Linked DNA regions of Homo sapiens: all the other regions are linked to region 3. Evidence: promoter capture Hi-C in 16 types of primary human blood cells and fetal thymus (Javierre and others, 2016). All regions are on one chromosome and are shown on one strand. The core of a region is centred on a gene start or on the middle of the fragment in contact, and the rest is flanking DNA. Distances in the headings are between cores, read along the strand shown. Region 1 overlaps MOB1B (MOB kinase activator 1B). Region 2 overlaps MOB1B (MOB kinase activator 1B). Region 3 holds the start of RUFY3 (RUN and FYVE domain containing 3).

The links. Contacts are between HindIII fragments. The CHiCAGO score rates a contact against its expected background, and 5 or more counts as called.
Region 1: a fragment that was not itself captured here is called in contact with the fragment with the promoter of RUFY3 in region 3 in 2 of 17 cell types (total B cells and non-activated CD4 T cells); the score reaches 7.6 in total B cells.
Region 2: a contact is called between a fragment that was not itself captured here and the fragment with the promoter of RUFY3 in region 3, in 2 of 17 cell types (M0 macrophages and fetal thymus). The highest score is 6.0, in M0 macrophages.

What each region holds. Positions count from the first base shown.
Region 1 is chr4:70,958,013-70,962,431 of GRCh38, forward strand. It overlaps MOB1B (MOB kinase activator 1B), which reads left to right. Exons shown (of 6, transcript NM_173468.4): 2 at 862-1,028. Among named protein-coding and RNA genes, the nearest start is that of DCK, 33 kb to the right of the region's middle. The HindIII fragment of the contact is 757 bases long and covers 2,322-3,078 here.
Region 2 is chr4:70,937,519-70,942,185 of GRCh38, forward strand. All of the region lies in intron 1 of MOB1B (MOB kinase activator 1B), which reads left to right. Among named protein-coding and RNA genes, the nearest start is that of MOB1B, 37 kb to the left of the region's middle. The HindIII fragment of the contact is 4,430 bases long and covers 582-4,667 here.
Region 3 is chr4:70,720,056-70,724,913 of GRCh38, forward strand. It overlaps RUFY3 (RUN and FYVE domain containing 3), which reads left to right and starts at 1,909. Exons shown (of 18, transcript NM_001037442.4): 1 at 1,909-2,696. The coding sequence starts at 2,519. The HindIII fragment of the contact is 24,519 bases long and covers 1-2,398 here.

The DNA.
Region 1 (4,419 bases), core at 1,450-3,949, 240 kb after region 3:
CTGTGTCTCTGTGTGTGCTTAAGCATTCAGAAATTGGAGCAAACCAGCCACACGAATGTCTAGCTACTTAACTGCTTAACCAGAATTCTGGACTAAAATTGATTACTGATACTTCCTATAATTGGGTAGAAAAACATGTAGCTTTTCTTTTCTTTCTTTTTTTTTTTTTTGAGACGGAATCTCACTCTGCCGCCCAGGCTAGAGTGCAGTGGCACAATCTTGGGTCACCACAACCTCTGCCTCCCGAGTTCAAGCGATTCTCCTGCCTCAGCCTCCTGAGTGGCTGGGATTACAAGGACCCGCCACCATGCCTGGCTAATTTTTTTGCATTTTTAGTAGAGATGGGGTTTCGCCATGTTGACCAGGCTGGTCTCCAACTCCTGACCCTTGGGTAATCCGCCTACCTCTGCCTCAAAGTGCTGGGATTACAGGTGTGAGCCACTGTGCCTGGCTGAACATGTAGCTTTTTTTTCTTGTTCCAGGATTTTTATGTTTTATTGATATCAAATTGTATCTCTATATTTCTTTTAAGAAGGAAACAAATTTATTTTATTAGAATGAGAGACTTAGAATAGGAGTGAAAGGAATACAATAACTAAAACATCATGGAAGTACTTTTTTGTTTTTTCATTAATTTATTGAGAAGAGGTGTTAGTTACAGCTTAAAAATTTTTCTTTTTGTGAGTTAACTAGACACAGCAGAGAAAGTTTGTAGGAGTTTTGGATGGAGAGCACAGTAGTTACAGCAATTCTATTGCTGGGATTTAAGCCAATACAGTTTAGGTCTAATGCTTGGTGAATGACTCTATTGAATGTCATGCCTTAAATATTAAACCCTTTTTTTTTCTTTTCTATTCATAGTGGTAGTCGCTCTTCTAAAACTTTTAAACCAAAGAAGAACATTCCAGAGGGTTCTCACCAGTATGAGCTCTTAAAACACGCAGAAGCCACACTTGGCAGTGGCAACCTTCGGATGGCTGTCATGCTTCCTGAAGGGGAAGATCTCAATGAATGGGTTGCAGTTAACAGTAAGTAGCCTTTTTATTTCTCAGTAGCCTGTGAATTAGGGTAATAGCCTCATTGTTGGTGAGTGTTGGTGCTGTCCATTCTAGGATTTAGTTAGTAAGCTAATATCATAAAAGAGTGATATCTCAATCTAACTTTAACCTTCATGTTACTTTATTTACTTTATTATTATTACTTTTTGAGACAGGGTCTCACTCAGTCACCCAGGCTGGAAGGCTGGAGTACAGTGGCTCAGTTATGGCTGACTGCAGCCTTGAACTCCTGGGCTCAAGCAGTCCTCCCACCCTCAGCCTCTAGCGTAGCTGGGACTGTAGGCACATACCACCCTGCCTGGCTCATTTACAAACATGTTTTAGTAGAGATGGAGTTCTCACTATGTTGTCCAGGATTGTCTTGAACTCCTGACCTCAAGTGATCCTTCTATCTCAGCCTTTCACGGTGCTAGGATTACAGGCACTAGTCACCACATCCAGTCCTTGTTATTTTATTTCTGAATATGGAATTTTATGAAATCTTGTTTCCTATTTTAATACAAAGCATAGATTTACTATCTTCATTATAATAATTTTTCATGTGTCAAACACTGTATAGACATACCACTCTCCTTTCTACGTGGATGATTTTATTTTATCTTTATAACCTTATGATGTAGGTATGATTATTATTTCGGTTTAATAGATTAAGTTGAGACAATTAGTAACTTGCCTAGGTCATATAGCTATTAAATGGAAGAACCTGGGATCAAATATACAGCTATAGAATTTCAGAGTCTATAGAGTCAACCACTATACTAAATTGCCTTTCTCAGTGGCATACTCAGTTATTTGTCTAATTGTGCTTTTTTTATTTTTATTTTTATTTTGAGATCGACTCTTGCTCTGTCGCCCAGGCTGGAGTACCAGTGACATGATCTCGGCTCACTCCAACCTCTGCCTCCTGGGTTCAAGCGATTCTTCTGCCTCAGCCTCCTGAGTAGCTGGGATTATAGGCACGCACCACCATGTCCGGCTAATTTTTGTATTTTTAGTAGAGATGGGATTTCACCATGTTGGTCAGGCTGGTCTCGAACTCCTGACCTTGTGATCCACCCACTTCAGCTTCCCAAAGGGCTGGGATTACAGGTGTGAGCTACCACGCCCGGCCAGTTGTGCTTATTTTTTAAAAAAAGATATCAAGTAGTCATCTTATGAAATTAGTAAAATATATTTATGAGATGTTCTTAACTCCTACAGAGAATAACGTATGAATAGTAATTATATTCTTGGGAATTAAGCCAGAGAAAGTTGAGGAATAAAAGCTTCAGCGTTTTTCAACATTAGTGAAAAAAATAGTAATAATAGAATTTTATAATTAAAGGAAATTTATTTGAATTTAGTAAAAATAAAATGAAATTTCATTGAAAGCATACACAAAATGTCTAGGCTTTAAGGAAATGCAAAACAGTATTTTTCTTATATTTAATGGCCTCTTATTATAATTTGAACTATGTCATGGGATTTATAAATTGAGCTGCCCCCCTCTAATACCTTTTAGGAACCAGGGGATTTTATTGTGATGTCTTAAAACTTACCATGACAGCATTTACACAAGAGCCATGTTATTATTATGTGATTATCCTCCTGGACCAAGAGAGTCTAGTTATTTGAAATAAAGTGATTTGTTTGCTTTATTGATGAGGCCTGCCGTATTTCTAAGATGTTTCTGTGTCATCTCCAAGACAATATTCAGAATGAATCTCCAATATATGTGTACGTTCTTTTTGTACTAATTTGTGCCTTTTTGTAAAATTTGAGAGTTCATTTACTCATGTTTAAAATGTAAGGAAGGCTGTATAGAGCTTCTATATTACAGTAGAGTCTGACTTTTAAATATAAAAGCAAATAATTTTCTGTCTGTATTCTGTCTCTTTCTCAGTTGCCACAACTGAGTGTCTGTACCTCTCTTATCTGCTAGGGATACATTCCAAGATGACCAGTGGATTCCTGAAACCGGTGATAGTACTGAACCTTCTGTACACTGTGTTTTTTCCTATACACTACGTACCTATGATAAAGCTTAATTCATAAAGCTTAATTTAAAATTTATTAAAGATTAATTTAAAATTAAGCACAGCAAGGGATTAACAACTGTTAATAAAATAGAACAATTACAGTTATACTGTAGTAAAAGTTATGTGAATATAGTCTCTCTCTTTCAAAATAATCTTATTGTGCTTTACTTAACCCTTTTTGTAATCCTTCACTCTGATAACCAAGGTGGCTACTATAGGTGATTAATGAGCAGGTATACAGCTAGACAGAGGGATGATTCACATCCCAAGCGGACGGAGTGAGATGGTGTGAGATGCTGTAAAATTTCATCACGTTACTCAGAATGGCACACAATTTAAAACTTATATATTGTTTATTTCTGAAATTTTCCATTTAATATTTTCAGCCCATGGTTCATCACAGATAACTGAAACCATGGATAGTGAAACCACAGATAAAGGAGGACTACTGTACTACTGAAACGCCTAGAACTTTGAGAACTCTTAAAATTTCACAGTAGTTCTATGATTTTACTACAGCTGGACAAAGATTGCTTTGGACTGAAGCATTAGAACATCTGCTTAGGGCATACTCTGCTTTGAAAATACAACATTTAACTGAAGTGTTGGATTTAAAATTTTCCTTATTTATAGCAATCTTCCCAAATGACACTTGATGAAGTAGGTGAATAGGGTTGGAGTCAGGACAGATACTTCCAGTCACTGGCAGTGATTCAGTAAACATTTCAGGTTCATAGAGGAGTAAAGGGAATTATTGATAAGATCTATATCCAAATAATAGGTGAAAGTGTAATTACTTAGCTAATACAGGAGAAAAATAGAATAATAAAAAATAATCCTGAAGAATATAAGGAGAGACTAGGTGCATTGGCTCACGCTATAATCCCAGCATTTTGGGAGGCTGAGGTGGGAGGATTGTTTGAGGCCAGGAGTTTGTGACTAGCCTGGGCAAAATCTGTATCTACAAAAATATAAAATAAAATAAATTAGCTGGGAGTGGTGGTTCACACCTGTAGTCCTAGCTACTCCAGAGGCTGAGGTGGGAGGATGGCTCGAGCCCAGGAGTTCGAGGTTAGCCTGGGCAGCATAGGGAGACCTCTTCTCTAAACAAATAAAATAAAAATTTACCTACCAAGGACTCTTGCATTCATCACTGTAGTTGAGATCTCTCCCCAGGCTTCACGAATTAGTCAAAACTCTACCTGATAACACTATTTTGATGTCTAAATTGATCTCAAAGTGAATATGTTCAAAATGGAACACAGAAAAATCTATTTGAATTTATGAAAGAGACCAGTGGTCCATATAAATAGGCAGCTGATCTTGACAAAGAAGAAAAGGCA
Region 2 (4,667 bases), core at 1,547-4,046, 220 kb after region 3:
TTTTTTTCTTTGAGATGGAGTCTCACTTTGTCACCCAGGCCGGAATGCAGTGGTGTGATCTCGGCTCACTGCAATCTCTGCCTCCCAAGTTCAAGTGATTCTCATGTCTCAGTCTCCCAAGTAGCTGGGACTACAGGCACGAGCCACCACACCCAGCTAATTTTTTATATTTTTAGTAAGGGGAAATTTTTAGTAAGGGGTCTTCCCATGTTGGCCAGGCTGGTCTTGAACTCCTGACCTCAGGCCGTCTGCCTGGCTTGGCCTCCCAAGGTGCTGAGATTACAGGCGTGAGCCACCGTGCCCGGCCCATCTCTTTGTTTTTGTACTTTATGTTTTAGGAGATTACGTCAGTTTTATTTTCTATTCCTTGTATTTTTAATTTCTGCAATCATTTTTTAAAAAATTTCTAGAGTCCTATTTAATTTCTTCTTTTTTTAATGTGGTGTTCTGTTCTCAGTTCATGAAGCATTCTTTTTTTCCTATCGCTAAAGATTTTTATTGATAGTTTTTGGGCTTTTTTGAACATTTAGTTTGTCCTCCAAGTTACTTTTTTCGATTTTGGTGTCGTCTCTCATGTTAGAAGCTTCCTTCCAGTGTCTGGTAACTCTTTTGCTTTCTGCTTTTATTTATAAGTAGGGCAATTAAAAAGCTAATTGGATTTCTGTGTGCATGAGTGTGGAGGGTTTATCAACTGTGGGCTTTGCTGAAGGATGATATAGCTAGGTTATTTCCTTGAAGAACTCCTGGTATGATTATCTTTTCAGGTCCTTATACATGGTGTGGTCAGATTTGCCGCCCCCGCCCCCCCCCCCCCCCAAAAAAAAAAAAAAAGAGCTTTTCAGTCTTTGTTTGGAGGTTATTATCTCTGGTTGCAAGGTTTCTGGTTAGGGGAATAGGCTAGGGGTCTCGACATGATTATTCAGATTCACTTTATCTCCATGTGTTAAGTATGGTAAACTTGCCTGCAACTATACCTGTGTCTCTTAAGCCAGAGACCTTCTGTTTTGCCCTCTCCATAGAATAAACCTTTAGCTTTCAGTTTTTCCTCAGGGTTGGGGTGGTACAGAAGCCCACTGTGTAGATTGTTTAGGGGTTCTGGAGGTATAACTGCTTTTTAAACAGAGTGGTAAAAATCCTGTTGTATTTTTACTTGCACCTCCAGAGTATTCTACATCTAGAGGCGTCACTAATTCCTAAATCCCTAAATCTTTTGTGGGATCTATGATGTAAATTGGATTGGTTTTAATTTTAGGATTGGGTTTTTTTTTTTTTTTTGGAGATGGAGTTTTGCTCTTGTTGCCCAGGCTGGAGTGCAATGGCATAGTCTTGGCTCACCACAGCCTCTACCTCCCGGGTGCAAGCGATCCTCCTGCCTTAGCCTCCCAGGTAGCTGGGATTACAGGCACCTGCCAGCACCTCGACCTCCCAAAGTGCTGGGATAATAGGCATGAGCCACTGAGCCTGGCCCCTTGCAGTTCAAATTTGGATTCATCTGTTTTCTTGCAAAAATGAGAGCTGCTGAACAGTCAAAGTTGGAAAAAGGAAATATCAAATTTGTTGAAAAAAGATTTTAAGAATATCTACTAATACACTGCAGTGATTCAACACAATAACACAATTTCCTTTCACTTAGACACAACACAATTGCAAATGCTTAACAGAACAATAAAATGGTTTAGTACTTACAAGAAAACTATTGAAGATGTTGGGCTGAAAACATACACTAGCCTCCACTTCCTACTCAAAGTCACAATAAAGTGAAGTTTTTTAAATCATAATCTCATAGAAATAAAAAGAATGAAAGAGAAAACAACTAAATTTTGGAAATTATAAAGTAGATGAATAACTGATTTAATGTCCCTAAGAAAACCCAATCCTAGTCTGGGTGCAGTAGTTCACACCTGTAATCTCACACCCGTAATCACAGGCCAAGGTGGGCGGATCACCTGAGGTCAGGAGTTCAAGACCAGCCTGGCCAACGTGGCAAAACCCCATCTCTACTAAAAATACAAAATTATCCAGGCATGGTGGCGCACACCTGCAATCCCAGCTACTCAAGAGGCTGAGGCTGGGAGGATCTCTTGAATGTGGTGAAACGGGAAAGGTTCCCTTGTCCCCCTTAAAGGGTGTGCGGTCGGGGGTGTGGCTCGCTTCTTTGGTGTCCTGCTGCTCAAACCTCTACAGGGAGTGTGCAGTGCTGAAGCCCCAGTGGGCGTGTGTTACCCGGTGCTCTTTTAGTTTACCCATCAGCTCATTGAGACCTCTTGCCTAACAAGGACAGAGAGTTTTTTGTATCCCGGAGTTCTTGCCTTGGTGTACAGAAGAATTGGATCACAGGTGGACTTGGAGAAAGAATGCAAGGTTTTATTGAGCGGAAGTAGCTCTCAGAAGATGGAGGAGCCAGGGGGAGATGATTTTCCCCTGGAGTCTGGCCACTGTGTGGCCCAGTGTCTCCTCCGACTGCCCTAGCCCGTCTCTGCATCTTTCCGTTGGTTTATGGCCTGCCCAGTGCCAGCATCTGTTGGTTTGCTGTCCTGCCGGTGTGCTCCACTCGATGTCCTCTTGACCTCCAGCCGCTTTTGTCTTCTTCCGCTGATGTGTTCCTCTCCACGTCCAGCCGCTTGTGTCTCTCCTGTTAGGGTCTCGGGGGTTTTTATAGGCACAGGATGGGGCCATGGTGGGCCAGGGTGGTCTTGAGAAATGCAGCATTTGGGCATAAAGGCAGGAGTGCCTGTCCTCACCTAGGTCCATGGGCACAGGCCCAGCCCTCTCCAGAGACCCACCTTCCTCTGTCTACCCAGCACTTTTCTGCCTCCCTTCTATACCACTAGGAGGTGGAGGTTGCAGTGAGCTAAGATCGCACCACTGCACTCTAGCCTGGGTGAGAGCAGAGCGAGACCCCATGTCAGAAAACAACACAAACCACCAAATTTGAACTGCAAGGAATATCTGTTATGTGTTTTCCTAGCTTCCCACAGTGCTTAACATGGTGGTGACTTGCCCGTATTAGGTATCCTAGAGGATTAAAGATGAATCTCTGTCCATGTATCAACATTGTTATCAGTTAAATGTCTCTAAAATCTGATTCCGAATGGATGAACAATTTTCCTTTCGTTTTTGTTTTCAGGTTAATAATAAAAATAATATTAGGGCATTAATTTTTTTTTTTTTTTTTGAGACAGAGTTTCGCTCTGGTTGCCCAGACTGGAGTGCAATGGCGCAATCTCAGCTCACAGCAACCTCCACCTCCCAGGTTCAAGCAATTCTCCTGCCTCAGCCTCCCGAGTAGCTGGGATTACAGGCATGCACCACCACGCCCGGCTAATTTTGTATTTTTAGTAGAGACAGGGTTTCTCCATGTTGAGGCTGGTATCGAACTCCTGACCTCAGGTGATCCGCCCGCCTCGGCCTCTCAAAGTGCTGGGATTACAGGCGTGAGCCACCACGCCCGGCCCGGCATTAAATATTAATTGGTCTTTTAATGTATCTCAGCTTTGAATTTAGGATTTGATTAACCAAATTTAACTGTAGTATTTTGTCTTACTATGACTGCAGAAGTAGACAACTCTTGCCACATGTACATTGTCTGATTTTCTCTTTATTTGTATCTGGCTATCATATCTCTCTTGGCTACTTTGGCTCTTTTTTTTTTTTTTTCTTTTCTATGCCATACACACACAGTAGTAGTGGCTGTTTCTTAACAGGTTGATTTGAATTTCCAGGTGCCCCTTTAGACATGAAATATGTTCTCAGTACTATACTCTAATTTCTGCTTACTTCTTTGTCACTTTTATCTGCTGCAACTTAAGAAATTTGTTTTATTTTATTTATTTATTTTTTTGAGACGGAGTCTCGCTCTGTTGCCCAGGCTGGAGTGCAATGTGGTGATCTCGGCTCACTGAAAGCTCCGCCTCCTGGGTTCACGCCATTCTCCTGCCTCAGCCTCCCAAGTAGCTGGGACTATAGGTGCCCGTTACCACGCCCGCCTAATTTTTTGTATTTTTGGTAGAGACGGGGTTTCACTGTGTTGGCCAGGATGGTCTCGATCTCCTGACCTTGTGATCCGCCCGTCTCGGCCTCCCAAAGTGCTGGGATTACAGGTGTGAGCTACCGTGCCCAGTCAAGAAATTTCTTCCTTCTTTCCCTTACTCTGTTCCATCCTTCCTTGTGACATTTCTCTTTGGTATCTTTCTTTTCAGAGAAACTTTGGTATCTTTCTTTTCAGAGAAAATTAACATTCGAACATTCAAATGCTAATTTAATCTTTTAAAGTAAAGCTAATTACTGAGATCACATGCTTGGTATTTTTAATTTTATCATTATGGTAAAACTGGACCGAGATACTTCAATATCTGTCAGAAGAACAGATGATTTGATGGTAACCCTGTATAAGAATTTTGTTTCTAAATTTCTTAAACCTCTTGATTAGAATGTTTTAATAGTTGTGAAAGGCTTTAGTAAGTTTTATAATTTAATATTATTATCAATCTTAGCTAATATTTCAGATTATTCAGATTATGCATCAGAAGTATGCTTTGGCAACTCTCATTTAAATCCTCAATGTCTTTGACCTTAATTACACATTGGTTAAAATTGACCTCCAAACCAGGAATGATTCTTATTTTATTAAAAACGAAAAATCCTAAGAAGCAAACACTCAAATCAGC
Region 3 (4,858 bases), core at 659-3,158:
TGTACCAGTATACCCTCCTTCTTTTTTTTATTTTGAGACAGGGTAGAGTGCAGTGGTATGATCTCGGCTCACTGCAGCCTCTGCCTCCTGGCCTCACGTGATTCTTCCACCTCAGTCTCCCAAGTAGCTAGGACCACATGTGCGCGCAACCATACCTTGCTAATTTTTGTTTTTGTAGAGATGGAGTTTTGCCATGTTGCCCAGGCTGGTTTCAAACTCCTGAGCTCAAGCCATTCACCTGCCTCAGCCTCCCAAAGTGCTGGGATTACAGGCACATGCCACCACATCTGACTAATTTTTGTATTTTTAGTAGAGATGAGGTTTCACCATGTTGGCCAGGCTGGTCTCGAACTCCTGACCTCAGGTGATTTGCCCGCCTTGGCCTCCCAAAGTGCTGGTATTATAGGCATGAGCCACCGCGCCCAGCCATCCGCCCTGTCTTCGTAACAATATGAAAATGCCAGTTTCTCTACAGAATTTGATTATTAGCATTTTTTTCTTTCAGTTCAGTCTCAAATTATGATGAAGCATTTGAGATTTTAACAATATTCAAGGAGAATTTTTTTAGTTTTCAGAAATTAGGTAAATCAAGATGTCCCTCTGATAACAATCCCTAGAAAGGAATAGTCTCAGGTCATATTTCTTGAATTTGTATGTTCCTCCTTAAAATTGGAACCCTTCAATACAAAAACAAACAAACACTTTCTTTCAATTGTCCAAAACATTTTCAAAGAAAATTCTTATTCTTCTCTTTGTAATTTATGTAGTTCATAAAGCAAGTACCTGCCCTTTTGCTACCAAGGTATAAATGCCTCATTGGATAATATAGGGCCGTGTGTGTGTGTGTGTGTGTGTGTGTGTGTGTGTGTGTGTGTGTGTATTAAGAAAATATAATTGTCTTCAGTATCTTATCGAATGGGAGGATTTTAAAAATATAACATGGTTTAATCTGCTTAGAAACATATTTCATGCTTAAGGCTGGGCATGGTGGCTCACGCCTGTAATCCCAGCACTTTGGGAGGCTGAGGTGGGAGGATCATGAGGTCAGAAGTTCAAGACCAGCCTGGCCAAGATGGTGAAACCCCGTCTCTACTAAAAATACAAAAATTAGCTGGGCGTGGTGGTGGGTGCCTGTAATCCCAGCTACTCGGGAGGCTGAGGCAGAGAATTGCTTGGACCTGGGAGCTGAGATCACGCCACTGCACTCCAGCCTGGGCTACAGAGCAAGACTCTGTCTCAAAAAAGAAAAAAGAAAAAAAAAGAAACGTATTTTATGCTTAATACAGAAACTTGATAAATACAACAAAATCAAAAAGGGGGGAAATTGCCATTAATTGGGAAAGATTTTACTTTTTTAACTTGAAGTTTTTTTTTTGCATTTCTGCCTAACCTAAAAGGTCAGGTTTTTGTACCTTGGAGAAGGAAATTATAAATGCCCAAGAATAAGATATTTAAATTGAAAATCTACTTTAGCTTTTCTTTTTATCTTTTTGTTTTTTTTCCCTCTGAGAACCTCAATTTTTTATGCTTTAGCTTTTCTTAAAACATAACATTTAGCATAGTAAAGAATTTTAATAGCTATGTAGATAAGAATGAAAGAGGTGAATTATATGCTTGTTAAATTAATCTAACTGCCTCTTTTACCATCTTTACTATAGATTATTATCCGGTATTAATTGTCATCCTTTTATTCAGTCCTTGATCCCAAAGTAAGAAGAATTGATGAGGATATGTGCATTGTGTTATGTCTGATCACAGTTTGACTAGCACAGTCTGGAAGTGGGTTGTACAGGATGAGAGAGAGAAGCCTAATTGCTCTCCCAGCATCAGCAGCATCTATAAAGCATCCTGGGAATTGCTTGCCCTACGTTCAGAGCAGCTGGTCACATGAGCCTGAATTTTCAGTTCAGTTCATTAGTCAGCCATTTTGGTCAACACCCTGCTTACTGCGCACGGCCAATCCTATGAGAACTCAGCATCCCAGCTCATCTGAGCAGATCCTGGAAGTGATTTCTGCAGCTCAGGATTTTTTTTTTAAGCTACATTGAAAATATAGGTTTATTTTTTGTTCAGGTTTTTCTTTTATATTTTTTTTCTGCACAAAGGAGGAGGATTTTTCACTTACTCATATCGAGGCCAGATTTTTAAAGCCAGCTAAGGCAGCATCAGCTGTGCGGGATTTAAAGCCTATAGCTCAGCTGAAAAAAAAGGTGGGGGGCAGGGAAGGGAAGATAAAAGGAGAGGAAGCTGGGAGAAGACAAGCATCATCTTATTTTGCTATGTGGTAGGAACTGTCTATAAGATAGTGTAGAATTGTTTATCTTGAGCAGTTTGTTCTTAACCTATAAGGTATTTTTCCTTTTTTTTTTTTTTAAACCTCCCCCACCCTTTTCCTGAAAGCTTTGTTTCAGAGCTTTGTATTGGGTTTTTTTGGTGAGGAGGTTGTATTTATTTTTTTGGTGTGTGTGTGTGAGTGTGTGTGTGTCTGTGTGTGTGTTGTGGTCCCAGCTGAGTCATCATGTCTGCTCTGACGCCTCCGACCGATATGCCAACCCCCACCACTGACAAGATCACACAGGCTGCCATGGAGACCATCTACCTTTGCAAATTCCGAGTGTCCATGGATGGAGAATGGCTCTGCCTGCGAGAGCTGGATGACATCTCACTTACACCTGACCCAGAGCCTACCCATGAAGGTATGGTCAGATCCTGTCCGCTAGTATTTCACCAGCATCCTCATTGTTATGGGGGAGGGCTGGGAGGATCAGGGAGAGGTAGAAAGAACCTACACTCTCAACTGTTAACAGTCCTGAAAACCTTGCATCCTTACTTACCACCCAGCTCCCCTTCTCTTGCTCATGGGGGAAAGATAATTTTTTTTCTTGCCCCTTTAGGTATCCTTTCAAAAGATGCTGGATACTCGTTTAGAGTTCTTTGTCTTTAAGCCTCTAAATAAAACATTTGAGGTCACTTATCACATCTGATTCTATTCAATAATGAGAAAGCTATTAATTTTGTTCATATATGAAAATGTTATAGAAATTGTAGTGATTTATAACACTAAGTTAAGACAACATGACTATAATTATAGGATTGTACATGATGAATACAGTAGAAACACCAGGGTATTTGGTAATGGTATCCTCACCATTATATGAGGATACAATTTTAAGCAAGTTATGACATCTAGGAAATGTTTGATAAAACATTTTTTTAACAATATGGATTATTAGGTTAGATGAGAAAATAACTTTTCAGCATTTATTTATTGAATATGGACTCCTAAGAAAGCATAATGCCTGGAAAGGTTAAATATGATTAATATGGCATCCCTATAGATTACAATAGAATGGTAATATTGGAATCTATTGGCCATTGCTTTTTATAAATTATTTGTGGTAACTATTATGATCCATTTGAGATTTCCACTGTCAGTACCTCTGAGATCTTTGTGGTCTCTTGACTTGCGACTTTTTTCCAGGACTCTTGCTAATTTATGAGAGGTTTTCTGCTTCTACCCTTTAATTCTCTTAATACCACAGAAAGAGAGCTGATTTGAATCATAGCTACAAATCGTTTTGTTTTTAATACAGTTGCTTCTTAGCTAAGGTTTATTCTCTGTCCTTATACTGATGAAAAAAAACAAAAAACGCTTGCATATGAGGAGAAATTCTTTATAAACATCTGCCTGATAGTTAGGCACATCGACAGGACAAAGAAGACCATAGGTGAATTGTACCTAGCAGATGGGGTTAGGAAAGGTGATTCTCTGCCTTTGACCTTGAGTTGAAATCTTATCATGACTCAGAATTTTCCCATTGTGTTTGATAAGCATTTTATCTTCCCAGTCAGCCTTAGCCTTGAGAAAGTTTTAGGGATGGTTAATAACACAGAACACAAAGCAGTCATTTTGGGTGTGTCTTTAAGAACAATGTTTAAGTGGTTTTTAAGACCCTTTGCATCTTTTAACAATTGGTTTGTTAATTAGACAGCTTTCTTTGGCTGTATGTTTCGTTATGTGCACAAGTTATAAGACATCAGCTGAAATTCCATGCAATGCCAGTACTATTTATTTTTTATTATTATTTTATTCTATATTTTCATCAAAACATCGTTACATCCAACAATTCCAGTACTACTTAAAACAGCCTCCAAAGCTTTAAAAGTCTTTAGGGAAGAAAAATACAGTTTTAGAAGGCTACCAAGAAGTCTTCTGGCAACTGCCTCAGTTTACATATTTTGTTTGAAAAAAATGTATTCCCGTCCAATTTGAGAGTTATACAATATGAAATATTCCCTTTATCATGAAATCTAGTTTACCAGTGTCTCAAAAATAATTTTTAACAATTTTAACACCTCAAATATATGTTTTTGGAGCAGGATTCCTATGGATAAGCAAAAGTGAGCTGTTTGGTTCATGTAAGCGTTTTTAGCAGCGCCATTTGAATTCTTCATAGAGAAATCTGTAGCAACACATTTCTCAGTATGGAAAATGTGTGAGAGCTATAATCTAAGTAATAAATTGTATGTCTGCTGATTAAAGAAATCAGATAAATACAGAGTTTCCAAGACCTGTAATCAACTATAGAGGATTTGGAAGAAAATAGAGAAATGCCGACAGTGCATTTTAGAATTTTGCCTTAAATTGGGCAAGAAAGCTATTATTTTAAATTACTAGAAATGAAAATAAAGAAAGCATAGTCCCATGAAAGCCTGTGAGTATTACTGCCTTGCTCCATTACCAAACTCTGGATATTTAAACAGTCATTTGGTCCCAAGAAATACCCACTTTTATGTTAATACCACTGATAGTTATTAGATTTAATTTAGCTATAAGCATTTAAGTGGTGGTCACCAG